Linked DNA regions of Homo sapiens: regions 2, 3 and 4 are each linked to region 1. The links are contacts of gene promoters, found by promoter capture Hi-C in blood cells and fetal thymus (Javierre and others, 2016). All regions are on one chromosome and are shown on one strand. The core of a region is centred on a gene start or on the middle of the fragment in contact, and the rest is flanking DNA. Distances in the headings are between cores, read along the strand shown.

Evidence for each region. Contacts are between HindIII fragments. The CHiCAGO score rates a contact against its expected background, and 5 or more counts as called.
Region 2: a contact is called between a fragment that was not itself captured here and the fragment with the promoter of LL22NC01-81G9.3 in region 1, in 1 of 17 cell types (endothelial precursors). The highest score is 6.4, in endothelial precursors.
Region 3: the fragment with the promoter of SSTR3 here is called in contact with the fragment with the promoter of LL22NC01-81G9.3 in region 1 in 3 of 17 cell types (erythroblasts, neutrophils and monocytes); the score reaches 5.9 in erythroblasts.
Region 4: a fragment that was not itself captured here is called in contact with the fragment with the promoter of LL22NC01-81G9.3 in region 1 in 2 of 17 cell types (endothelial precursors and monocytes); the score reaches 8.3 in endothelial precursors.

The regions. Positions count from the first base shown.
Region 1 is chr22:36,963,554-36,966,934 of GRCh38, forward strand. LL22NC01-81G9.3 (a long non-coding RNA gene) reads left to right here and starts at 1,695. Exons shown (of 4, transcript NR_038954.1): 1 at 1,695-1,960; 2 at 2,837-2,954. The HindIII fragment of the contact is 1,620 bases long and covers 1,552-3,171 here.
Region 2 is chr22:36,718,987-36,722,367 of GRCh38, forward strand. All of the region lies in intron 1 of CACNG2-DT (CACNG2 divergent transcript), which reads left to right. Among named protein-coding and RNA genes, the nearest start is that of CACNG2-DT, 17 kb to the left of the region's middle. The HindIII fragment of the contact is 1,383 bases long and covers 858-2,240 here.
Region 3 is chr22:37,211,074-37,214,454 of GRCh38, forward strand. It overlaps SSTR3 (somatostatin receptor 3), which reads right to left and starts at 1,404. Exons shown (of 2, transcript NM_001051.5): 1 at 752-1,404. RefSeq lists an enhancer at 243-1,222. The HindIII fragment of the contact is 10,151 bases long and covers 1,046-3,381 here.
Region 4 is chr22:36,834,868-36,838,248 of GRCh38, forward strand. No RefSeq gene overlaps it. Among named protein-coding and RNA genes, the nearest start is that of PVALB, 20 kb to the left of the region's middle. The HindIII fragment of the contact is 1,897 bases long and covers 628-2,524 here.

The DNA.
Region 1 (3,381 bases), core at 445-2,944:
GTGCACCCCTCTGCTGTAGCTCCCACCGCAATTAACTGAAATTCTCTTTTTGTGTGTCTGTCTCTCCTATTGTCCCATAAGCAGCTTGAGAGCAGAGGTGAGGTAGGTTTTGTGCAGTTTTGAATCCTCAAAGCTTACCATACTCCCAGACATATACTAGACATCCAGAAAATAAGGTTTAAACTCAACAACTTTTCCTTTTCCCATAACGTCTCAAGTTCCACTTAATGATTTTCAATGATTATTCAAAGAGGACTATATATCTTTTAAGAATTAATTTGTCAGAAAAGGGATTTCTGGCTGAAAGAATTACAGATTGAGTTTCTGTTTGTAAGTCCAAGAGCCTGCGGGGTTATATGCCTGCTGCGCATGTCATTTAGGGAGTGGAATTTCAATTGACTTCCGTTTTTCCTTTTTGTAAAACACTGTTTGTAATTTTACCACAAATGCACATTTATGTAATAAAAGCATAATTATAATGTTCATTTAAAATGATTTTTTCCATCTAATTCACATTCACTTAGCAGTTTAAAAAGCATAAGATATGTTTACTGCAAATTGCATCTGAAATGCTTCCCTATGTTTGAGAATGAAGTTTCAGCTAGAACAGTGACTCCTGAGATGTACTCTGCTCAGGTGTTTCCAAACTTGGTGACCACAGTCCCTCTCATCCTGCATGCTCCTCCACCTTCTGACTTTGCAGCTCCTCCTATAAGGATGTGGAATCTCTTTCCCCTCCCCTTGGGTCTGGGCCTCCTTGTGACTTCCTTTGGCCAGTAGAAGGCAGTGGGGGTGAAGCTATATGATTTCTGAGACTAGGCCTTAAGAGGCCTTGCAGCTTCTTTTGCTCTCTTAGAAGTCAGCCATGGTGTAAAGCAGTCCAGGCTCTCCTACTGTAGAGGCCATGTGGAGACAGAAACCCTGGAGGATGGGAAGCCATGTGGAGGGGAATAAGCCAGTGAAGCCCTCTCTCACTCCACCCTCGTCAAGCTCCCAGCTAAATGCAGCCACATGAATGACCTCACCTGCTTTGTGGAGCAGAAGAACCACCCAGGTGAGCCTAGCCAACCCACAGAATGGTGACAAATAATAAATGGTTGTTGTTTTCAGCCATTAAGCTTGGGAGGTGGTTTGTTAGGCAGCAGTCAATCATTTGTTCTTATGACAGACATTTGTTTGCTGGTTAGATTGGATGTAACCTGGGATCACATGATCACACATTCACAATGTCAGAAATGTCCCCAACAACAGACACTTGGCAATTTGGAATTAATAAACCCAGCTTCAGAGAATCCCTGTTTCCCAGTCACTGTTTCTCAACTTTCCTACACTGCCACCAAGTATGAGCCAGCGTCTATCCCTCTCACATTCCTCACCCCATTAATAGACTCCCTGTTTTTCTTGTATCTCGTTAATTTCTGGTATGTTTCCTAGGACCTGAAAACATAACCAACTGTCTTTCATCTTAAAAAAAAAAACTCCCCCTTCCCTCACCCCAATCAAGTATCCACCTTAGGCTTCCATACCATCTCTTTCTCCTCTTTCTAATCAAGCTTTTCCAAAAAGCTGTCTTCATATTCCCATTTCCTATTCACTCCTCTCTCTATTTATTATGACCTGGCTTTAGAATGGTCTTCCGCCAGCATCACAGAGGAGCTCCACATCACATAACCAGATGGATTCACCCCTGCCTTGACCTCTCAGACACAACACCAGCACCATGGCCACTCCTAGAGCCTTAAAAGTCTCTCCATTTTTATGCCTCCCACCACACTCTGCTTTCTCCTTCCCGCTCTGACTTTCCCTTCTCTGTTCCCCTCCTGGCCTCCCGAGCACCTCAGCCAGGCCCTTAGGCACCAGTGTCCTCAGGGGTCTCCAGGGCTCCTCTTCTCATCCCGGTCTACGTGCTCTGCTTTCAAGTTTGCAGGCTCTCTCAGGTTTTACCTAAAGGTTTTCCTAAGTAAGTGTTCTTCCCCCAAACCTAAGAGCTATGAATTCAATGACCTATAGAACCTCTTTCCTTGTATGTTCCAGAGACGAGATACCTCAAGCTCCACGTGCCAGAATGTGACTCTTTGGCCACCCCCCAGCCCCCTATCCCCTACTCCCAGTGACTTTGTCTCTTGTAAGAGGCCTTGCCCTAGGCCACTGGTTCTGCTAAGGCCAGAGAAATGCCCACACACATGGTTGCTTATGGGAAGGGGTCATCTGAGCCAAAAATGGGGAATAGAGGCAGCTGCATGCCTTGAGCCACACTTGCAGAATCTGCCTGTCCAGGCCTCTCTTGTTCTCAGTGGTGACCTGTCTGCCTCCTGTTCCTGGGTCTTCCTCTTTCTGTGACTGAGACACCCTCCCCCACTGCCCGGCTGGAGGCTCAGCTCCATCCTCAGCTCCAGGACCAGCCCTGACCCGGGGAAGGAGGGGTTCACAGGGTCACAGTTGTGCCTATACTTCCTTGAACCTCTGTCCTCATCCCTGGGCCCACCCTTGCTTCTGAGAGCTGGGCCACCCTGTGTGGCCTCTGACAACTGAGTTCCTGCCTTCTTCCCCATGCTGGAGTTTGTTCTACAAAGCTCAGATTGGAGACCTTGTTGTTCTTGATTACAACTTACTTCTCTGTTTCCCTACCTCTACAGATGTGGTTTCTAGACAGTTTTCAATTATATTGATGAGTAAAAAATTTTTAAAAACAGAAAGAAAAATACAACTTTATTTTTAAATAAAAAAGAAAATATCATTTACTATCAACATCATTTTCTACTTTAAAAAAAAGACATTTTATTTTATTTTATTTTATTTTATTTTACTTTATTTTATTTTTTGTTTTTTGAGACAGAGTCTCACTCTGTTGCCCAGGCTGGAGTGCAGTGGCATGATCTCAGCTCACCACAACCTCCCCCTCCCAGGTTCAAGCAATTCTCGTGCCTCAGCATCCCGAGTAGCTGGGATTACAGGTGTGTGCCACCACGCGCAGCTAATTTTTGTATTTTTAGTAGAGATAGGGTTTCACCATGTTGGCCAGGCTGGTAAAAAGGGACATTTTAATACAAACGAAGTAATCAAAGAATTCTGATCTCAGCGCGCAGGATGGCCCTTTTCAAACAGAGGCAGCTGGCCATTTTCCTTGCCTTCATTTTCCAGGGTTTTCTCCTCCCATGAATGGGCAGTGAAAGCTTCATCCTGGACCAATCCTGCTCCACGATGGCTTTGGGGACCTGCCTTGCCCCAGTGTTTTGTCTGCAGGCCTGGCAACTTTGACCATGAGAGGCAGACTCCCTCTGACTGGAGGCTGACAAGTGGAAACTATTGGGATTATTCCCAGTGGCCTTACATGGGGGCGGCTCAGCTTGGTGAATTCTCAGGCATGATCCAAATCTGCCT
Region 2 (3,381 bases), core at 299-2,798, 240 kb before region 1:
ACCTACATTTTGTGGTGCTAAATTCATCTATAACAGAGGAGTAATTTAATTCTGAAGCCACATTAACTGCTCTTTGCCTTCTCGCAAAGTCACCCACTCTTGATTTTTTTTGCATAACTTAATTCAGTTTTTCTGCTCTTGCTACATTTTCTTCAGCTCCTACACATTTTTTGGGAGGTGGTTATAATGTTATTATCTTATTATTAGTCACTAACCGGGAATAATTCACTTTTCCAATTGATCTATGCTGCCTACAAAATGCCATATCAACTGGAAGCACAGTCTGGTTAGTGAGTTTTGAGAGCCAGTTCAGACAGACCACTTTGTGTGACAGGCTTGGCTCAGGCAATGATGACCTCTATGAGCTGAATTTACCTGTGGTCAAACGGTCCCAGTGTTGGAAGAGCATCCACAAGCCAGATTCTCAAGGGTGCGGCAGGGGTACCTGATTGTGTCCAACTCATGTTGTGTGCTGAATATTTTACACAGTTCCTGCTAGTTTGCATTTGTCCTAAATAAATTTCTGACAATGTCAAGTTCAATGGATTCTCTAGATAAAACATCCCTGAGCACCATGTTTCCCTTGAAAGGATGCCCAGCTGCATATGCACATTTGTGGTGTAGCCTTCACACAAACACACTTATTTGGGTAAAGTAGAAGTGTGTATGTGGGAACTAATACATCCTTCTGCCATCGTGACTCAAGCCTGAGGAGTGTTAATTGTGGATGAGTGGGGTTTTGGGGCATAAGCAATTGCCTGGTTCACTTTATGGTAGAATCACCCCGAAGCTGTGTATTGGGAGGAGAGAATGAGGACGGAACATTAGGTGAACTAAAAGGAGAGGCTATAAACTGAAGCTTATTCTTTGGGTAAGAGCAAGCCAAATTTATTCATGAATGGGTGTTCCTGGCCTTTGCTTTCCTGCTGTCATCTAATCAGGTTTTCTTGATTCTTGACTAGGTTTTTGGAAGAACTTAGGGATATAGAATCAAAAAGAAAGGAGGAGAAAGAAATGAACAAGAAGCCCTCTATTTAGGGTTCAGGAGAAGTTTTTCAGGGTGTTAGAGGAAAGGGTGGGAGAACCATAGGGGTGACGAGGGAGACAAGAGGGCATAGAAATTTTAAGAGATATCGCTACAGATATCTCCAATCCGTAGAGTAACCTGGTGGGCTTTGCATGTGGCTTTGACCAGTCATTGGCCCTTCTGGGTCTCCTCATCTCCCCATCTCTCAGAACTTGGACCCCAGGAAGCCAAAGGGCCTTTCTAGTGCTCACATTCAGATGTCAAATGGCATCCTCAAACTATGCTTGGTCCAGGACTCTGGAGAGATCTGGATTCCTATTGACTCAGAAAATTACTCAGTATTATTTTATCTGGTGTAAGCCACATCCCTCTTCTGTGCCTTGATTACTCTATTGGCTCATCAAGGACACTGAAATAAACACAGGGGACTCACAACGTGATATTCATGAAGTTGGGTTTCTTTTTTTCTTTTTTTGAGACAGAATCTTGCTTTGTCTCCCAGACTGGAGTGCAGTGGCGAGGTCATGGCTCACTGCAGCCTCAACCTTCCAGTGTCAAGTGGATCCTCCCTTCTCAACCTACCAACTAGCTGGAACTACAGGCACATGCCACCACGCTCGGCTCATTTTTAATTTTTTTTTTTTTTTTTTTTTTGTAGAGACAGAGTTTTGCCATGTTGCCCAGGCTGGTCTCAAACTCCTGGGCTCAGGCTATCCTCCCACCTCCGCCTCTTGAACTGCTGGGATTATAGGCATGAGCCACCCCGCTCAAACCAAAGTTCTTTTAATAAAGGAATTCCGCAGTGCAGGGTAGACAGCTTCCTTCTATCTCTCATATGTAAACTACCTCCTTTTCTTGCTCTCCTTTTCCCCTGACCCATTGTCTCCTTCTCTCCTCCTCAGGAGGCTGGATGGGGACACATACCATGAGTGACATCTTACCAGAGGGTGGCCATGAACTTCATCATGTTCCACAACTGTTAATGACCACTGGCGCTGGCCCTGCTGCTCTCTGAACTCCTCTCTGTGGAACTGTGCCCCTTCTCTGGGAAGAGTCCTTGAAGCTCTACTGAGAATGAAACCTCTTCTTTCAGCTCATGTCAATCTTGGTATTTTCCCAACATGTTCAGGTTCTGGCTTGGAGGTGCTATCTGTTGTTGACTTTGGACATAAACGAAGCTGTTATTTGCCTCTTTTGGTTTGTTATGTTAACAAGCTTTTGGGATTTGTTCTTTAAGATTCCCCACCCCTATTGTATGATGATAGGTGCTGGAACCAGACTGGTTGGGTTCAAATTTTTGCTGTCGCTAACTTGCTTTGTGAACACATGTCAGTTACTGAATCTCCCCGTGCCTCAGTTTTTTAAATATGTAAACAGGGAGTTCTCGTAGTACCCGTGGGTCTTAGTCAGTTATTGCTATAGAACAAACCACCCCCAGACTTAGTAACATCAACAACAACTATTGTTTTTTTCATTCATGCATCTGGAGAGAGGCTGGGGAGGAGGAGGCTTGGGTTTGGCTTATCTAGGTGGGGCTTGCTAGGCTTGGCTCTGAGCTGTGGATTAAACACAGGTCTTCTCCATTTGTCTTTCATCTTCTTTGGGCCACCGGCTACATAAGGCATGTTCTGATGGCAAAGAGGAGAATTAAAGGGGAAGTCCTATTGGCCAAAGCTGGTCAATGGGAGAGAGAAGCGTACGCCCCTAGGGAGAGACAGAGGGGAGTGAATTTTTGTTGAACAATTATCCTAACTATCACACTGTTGTGATAGTTAAATGATTTAATAACTTTAACAGGCTAATAACAGTACCTGGCATGGAGTAAGTATTCAATAAATAACAAACATTGGTAGTGATAATATCAGTACTAGTGGTAATATTAATATTGGCATTTTTAGTAGTATATGCACACCTCAGGTACTCTTTTCAAAATATACATTCACACTAAAGTGTAAATGTCTGCTGGTATAACACAGACCTCAAATGTGTATGTTTAACAGGAGCAGTTAAGCCAGAGGTGAAGGCATAAAGGTAGATTTTTGAGACTCAGTAAAATCTAATGATGAAGAAAGGGGGTTCTGGAGTAAGTCAAATTTGGATCAAAATGCAAACTCTGCCACTTATTTTGCTGAGTGACCATGGGCCAGTTTCTCACCCTCTCAGTGCCTCATAGGGTAGTGTGAATTTGATAAGCTCTTGTAAGCAAAGCAAGTCAGAAAGCACCTGGCCCCTAGCAAAGTCAATAAACACCCATGGGTAAAAAGGTCAGGAGTGGAGGGAGGAGGTAGCAGAAGCCTCTCATAGAACCCCAAACCTTGCCAGAAGGTGGTGAGCTCACCTCTGTCCATGGGTCT
Region 3 (3,381 bases), core at 154-2,653, 250 kb after region 1:
AAGCCAGAATTCGAACCCAGTTCTATCTACTTCTAAACCATCAGTACCTCCTGGCCACACTGGCTCCTCTGAAGGCCTCAGGCTGAGAAGGATCAAAGGCCATGACAGTCCTGAATAGTGCAGGGCGATGGCCCCTGGCTCTCTGCTTGTCCTCTACATGCTTCGGCCTTCCCCCCAAAGACACCTGGCTTATGCTTGCCAGTGCCGACTGACTCACTGGCACCCCAGGCCTGGGGCCTGATCCCAGGAGCACACCCTACAGGCCCAGCGCTGGGGGCTTGGGCTCTGCTGCACAGCGATGATGCCAAATTGCTGTGTGACCTCGGGCAAGTCACTTCTCCCCGCTGCACCTCAGTTTCGTCATATGGAAGACAAGCGGACCCACCTCCCAGGGTTGTTTGCAGAGATTAAACGGAGGCGTGCCAAGCACAGTGCCGGGTATGGAGGGGGAGCTCAGGAGAGCTGCCACGTGAGCTGGGGAAGCCAACGACATGATACATCTGGCTCCCTCCAGCCCTGACAGCCTGCGATTCTGTGATTCCGAGATCCTAGAATCATGGCACGAGATTCTGAGACTAACGCCCCTGCCCCTGCAGCCGACCGGGAGGTCACAGGAAGGCCTCCCTCCTGCCTCCCTGGGAGTCCCCACCCTCTGCCTCCCCAGCCCCAGCCTCCCAAGTTCATCCTGGGCAGAGGATGGGCTTCCAGGACCCCACCCTTCGGGACATCATCCGGGCCCCAGCCTCCTTACCTGCCCATGGGGTGAGGGCTTCCCTCCTTGCCGCCAGGCTGGTTATCATTCTGCTGTCCCCTCTCCCTGCCCAGTCCCCAGGTGCCCCCAGGGCACTCCTAACTAGGGTCCCCACAAGGCACCCACTTCTAGACCGCTTGCGGGCTCAGGTTCCCTCCCAGGCCCTCGGCCACGGCTGTCCACAGAGCCTCTCCCATCTGGTCTCCGGCCCTGACTTCCCAACCAGAGCCTGGTACGTCACCCCCCATCTCCAGGACACATCCTGGGGGGGCAGGGGCAAGGATAGGGGGGAGAAGCTTCCCAGGGTGAGGAAGAGAAGAGGGGAGCAAGGGACACAGAAGCCAATAGAAATAGAGGGGAAAGGGGGTCGGGAGGAGGTGGAGAAAGAGAGAGAGAGAGAAAGAGGGAGGGGGAGAGAGAGAGAGGGAGAGGGAGAGGAGACCGTGAGTAGGAGGAAAGGCAGAATGAGGGGGAGTGATGAGAGATGCGTGACAGGGAGAAGACGAGAAGGAAAGAGAGGAGAGGAGACACGGGTGAGAGGGAGAGATGCAGAGAGAGGCAGGAGGGAGGAAGGAGAATGAGGGGGTGGCAGGGAGAGTGACAGAGAGGGACTGTGCCACAGATGGTGACATGGAGCCCGTGAAGGAGGGAGTAAGCAGGGAGGGGCTGAGGGCCGGAGAGCAGGTGTGGGGGGTGGGGGCGGGGTGCAGGTTAAGGGAGGAGGCCCGGAGAGGGAGCAGGAGGGGCGCAGACCCTGTTACCGGGGAGATTTCAGCCACCCACGCCCGCTGGCCTTGGCTCCTGCAGGGAGTTGGAGAGAAGAATGTGCTCAGTGCTCAGGGGAGCCGAGGCTGCCAGCCAGTAGCCAGAGCAGCTCGTGAGGCCACTGCGGCACAGGTCCCCCGGGGCAGCAGCTGTGTCCCAAGGCAAGGCTGGGTGTGGGGCTGGCCAGCCCGGGAGTCCACAGTCCAGCCCTGCAGTCGGGCACACCGGCCGCAGCACGGACCACTGGGGAGGCCGGGTGGGGGTCATTAGTCCTGGGATTGGTTACATCTGGAGAGCCCCAGGCAGGGTGAGGAGTGGAAGGACAGAACAGAGAACCAATATTTTAGGCTTTGAGGGCAAAATCATTGTGCAGTGAGAAAACAGATTTTTACTATTTTGTAACTGACAAAACTCAAAATAGAATAATAATAATTGAGGCCAGTATTTTGTAATGTAGGTCCACTCATGAGAAGAATAGAGTTCTTTTTACAGACATCACCTTTTGCTTAATTGGAGTTTAGAGTTAGTGTTTCATCAAACCGATTGCAAATGTTCATCCGTAAAAACCATTCTCAGCTCCTAGGCTGTACAAAAACAGGCAGTGGGTGGGATTTGCCCCGTGGGCCATATTTACTGATCTTTGGTCTAAGAGACTCTGCCGTACAGTCCTGAGCACAGGCCCAGATGTCTTGGGATGCCGTGCCCCTGCCTGTGCTGATTCCTGCCTCAGCACAGGAGTGATAAGGAAAGGAACAGTCAGAGACGGAAGGGAAAAGGACACACGTCTTGGCTGAGCACCTACTATGTGCCAGGCTGTACCTAGGCTGCTTTCCAAACTGGGCCATTCCCTGGGACCAGGGCTGGACCTCCTTTGTCACTAGGTACCTGGCACTGCAGAGAACTGGAAGTTGAATGCATCCAGAGGTGCCACCATGCATGCGGCAGCACACAGTAGGACACACCCACTTCCAGCCGGAGCCGGCCTGGTCTCTTAACGCTGCCCGTCCCTTTGCCTTGTGCCCGGGACAAGGCCCTTGCTCCAGGTCTCAGCCTCCCATTGTCCTTGTCCGTACAAGTTCATGAGGTGTGGGTGGGCTCCTGGGAGCGTGTCCTCAGGGTCAAGGGTGGGTTTTCCATGGCACTGACCACCCACCCCTACCCACGGCTTCTCACTGCCCTCAGAATAAAGCTCTCTCGCCGCAGCCCACCTGGCACTGCATCCTTGATTCCTGCCGCCTGCGCGGGCCTCCTCCTCTGCTGATTTCACTCGCTCCTCTGTGCCCCAGGCGTACCCAGCCTCATGTATTCATTCACTTATTCCTGCAGGTTGGGGTATAGGGGCTGAAGACTGGACAGGGGAGTTTGAGCCCCAGCTCTACCCCTGCCGTGCACTGAACTTAAACTTCGGTTTTCTCCTTCAGTAGATTGTACACACCTGACTGCCTGGCCTGGGGGTTCTTGCGAAGGTTAAAGGAGTGAATGCTCATCAGTGTGCCCCCTGCCACACACCTCCCCAGCACCGAGCCTTACTGCTCCAGCCTGGAACCCGTCCACTGCTCTCCATCCACAGGCTCCCGTCTGAGCCAGGCCACTGAAGGGGTTCAGGACACGCCACCCCAGAATACACCACTCTGGCATATTGATTTCTCTGCACTAAAGGCACTTCAGAAACAGCAGGTGCAGAAAGGGGGCTCTGACCTCCCCTTTTCTTCCTGAAAGCAGGAGCTAAAACGCCTTGTGAAAGACGCCCTCCCTATGCCAGGAGGAGGAAAGACATTACCAGATAAGGAGAGTCGAGGCCAAAAGAAATCTGTATGAACAGATCTTTTAATCCTTATCTTCCTAGTTACACAATTGCCATTCTA
Region 4 (3,381 bases), core at 326-2,825, 130 kb before region 1:
AGGCTGGTCTTGAACTCGAGCTCAAGCGATCCTCCCAAAGTGCTGGGATTACAGGCGCCAGCAATCAAGCCTGGCCAGAACATTGATTTTTTTGACCTCAAATCCTGTGCAATGAGCCACCATATCGTCGTACAGGTATGTGGACTTGTACCTTGTCCACAGGGTGTGGGAGTAGAGTCTCATAGATGGAGCAAGAAATGAGAGCTCACACACCACCATGAGAACCAGCGTCTGCTGGTGTTAGAGGCTCCAGCACATCCTAATTTTCCCTGAGCGTCTTTTCCCAGCAATGTCTCTGGAATGGAAGTAGGTACACATGCGTACTTAAATATGTACCTATTTCCATATGGTTACTTAAATATGTACCTATTTCTATTCCAGAGACATTGCTTGGGAAATGTGATAAGTGTCACATCAACTGAATGGGGATAACCAGAAAGTAATGTACCTCCCCCTGCCCTGGCTCTGATGTTGTAGGTCTAGTCCTTTCCCTAGTCCTGGAGGAAATCTTTTTACTCAGGTAATAAAAAGCTTTCCGTGCTGGTGGCCACACATATCTGTCAGTTAGATAACTAGCATGTCCAGTCTTGTTTAATAATCAAAACCCCAAACTCTGTTCAGAGGTAAAGCTTTGCCCCTGGCCTAGCTGGAGCCTGGTGTGAGGGGAACCTGTGGTGGGAAAGGGGGACGTGTCACCACCTTGAGCTTCCAGTGGCAGCCAAAATCCTAGCTGAGTGCAGTCATATGAGTGACCCCAGATGGCACCAGCAGCAGCAAAGCGACTATCCGGCTACCAACCTGAAGAGTCCTTACAGATAATCTACCATTGAAGATTGATGTTTAGGGTGGGTTTTCCATGGTAATAGACCATTGAACTACACCTAACAGTTTCTCTTTAGGGTTGGGGATCATAGTACCCCAAGAGCTCTCTCTAAAGAACAACCTGCATACTTCGACTTCTCTACCTCTGCAATTTTAACCCTTTTATACCTTCCAATGCATGAAAAGCCAAGAGCCATGAAACTGGTTTTTTACCTTCTCCTTTGCAAGTCCAGCATGAGGGGTCTAGAACAGGGCTTAGCAAACTATAGTCTGTGGCCAAATGAGCCATGGCCCACAAAACCTGTTTGCTATCTGGCCCTTTAAGAAAAAAATGTCCCGTTTGAAATATGCAGGCAACAGTGTCTGATGGGCAAGGCTCGTGTCTGGTGCTCATCTGTATCAGTCCGCATGGACTCAGTTGTGCTGCAGTAACAAACAATCACGCAAGTTTCAGGGACTGGAATCTCACTTTGGAATGTGAGAACAGGTGGCAGCTCTTATCATAGACCCTCAGCTAAAACTGAGATGGAAATAATTGCATTATAACAGACCGTTACAGATGTTTGATGAATAGAGCATTCCATGGCCAAATACATTCAAGAAATGCACTGTGGATCACCCCTGTAATCCCAGCCCTTTGGGACGCTGAAGTGGGCAGATTATCTGAGGTCAGGAGTTCAAGACCAGCCTGGTCAACATGGTGAAACCCCATCTGTACTAAAAATACAAAAATTAGCTGGGCATGGTGGCATGAGCCTGTAATCCCAGCTACTCGGGAGGCTGAGGCAGGAGAATCGCTTGTACCCAGGAGGTGGAGGTTGCAGTGAGCCGAGATTGTGCCACTGCACTCTAGCCTGGGTGACCGGGCGAGACTCTGTCTCAAAAAAAAAAAAAAAAAAAAAGAAATACACAATGGAAAAATAAAAGGCAAACAAGATTCTTTCATTGAGCCTTCTCTCCAAGGTGGGAAGAAGAGGCCTGTAACGTCCTATTGTCCTATAGCTCCTGGACCCTTTCAGCTGGAGCATCCCCCGTGACAACTGGGGAACTCCTGTTGCCAGATGCAGGATGGTGGACGTGAGAGAGGCAGCTGGAGCCAGGCAGAGTTTCTCCACCCTGTGTCTTCATCTTAGCCTTTCTGCCCTCTTTCTTCCTTAGAGTTATCTGGCTGTCTGCTCATCTGGTCATAAACCGTTTTGTTCATATTAGGCCATGAGAAATGTGCAGTTCTTGGGTGGGGGGAGATGAGGAGGGAGGCTGGGGATTTTGCTTTTGAAGAATGCAAGGAAAGGACAAAGTTGAATCTAGTGATCTCACTTTCTTTCTCTTTTGTCACCATCAAAGCTGTGATTTGCCACTTAGCCCCCTCGAAACAGTTTCGTGGTTTGCTGGAGTTACTTCTGAGCAGATTTATTTATGATCAGAAGGAATATTTTATACCAGGAGGAAATTAATTCTGCTCAGCCTTCCTGCACATTCCTTTGACATGACAGGCTCCTCTTTTGAGGGCTGTTTTAACCTCTAGCTTCTCCCTTTGATATATTCAGGAGGCCCCAAAAATGCTGAGCCATCATCCTCACTCCTGATGGCCTTGCCATCATTCTGAGAACTAAAAAAGAATTAAATTGCAGTGGAAATGGTCACAGAATGCTCTTTTCTCTTTGGAAAGCTAATGTTAATTTGGAGTGAGATTTATGTAGGAAGCTTAAGGAATCTGTTAAAAGAAACATTGAGTTGATTTTCTAATTGACCACCATGTTGCATTTACATGTGTGACATCTGCAGATGCTCCAATAGTACGACTACACACATAAAGCTTTAGTGATTTGGTGATTGCCAAAAAGGCAGTATTTTTTCTGATTGGCATAATTTCTACCTCCAATTTACTGGAACACTGGGCATGACTGAGACGCCTTTTTAGTGATGTCTGCTGTTCTGCATGTTCAATAAACATAAAATTGAGAGGCTTGGCCATGGTTGTGTATGTGCAGCATCTGTGATCCAAGTGGAATTTAATGGTGGAATTGGGGCTTAACAATGGAATCCTGGGAGTGATATTTGGGCCTCAGGGCCCTTACTCTGCAGAAATGAGTGATGGGGCCTGTATTAGTCCATTTTCACACTGCTGATAAAGACATACCTGAGACTGGACAATTTACAAAAGAAAGAGGTTTATTGGACTCACAGTTCCACATGGCTGGGAGCCCTCAGAATCATGTCAGAAGGTGAAAGGCACATCTCATATGGAGGCAGACAAGAGAAGAGGACTTGTGCAGGGAAACTCCCCTTTACAAAACCATCAGATCTCGTGAGACTTATTCACTATCATGAGAATAGCAGGGGAAAGATGCGACCCCATGATTCAATTATCTCTCACTGGTCTCTCACACAACACATGGGAATGATGGGAGCTGCAATTCAAGATGAGATTTGGATGGGGACACAGCCAAACCATATCAGAGCCTATTCATATGGAGCCGACTCTGTGTGTGTGTGGTGTGTGTGTGTGGGGGGGGGGGGTGGTGTGTGTGTGTGTGTGTGTGGGTGGTGTATGTCTGT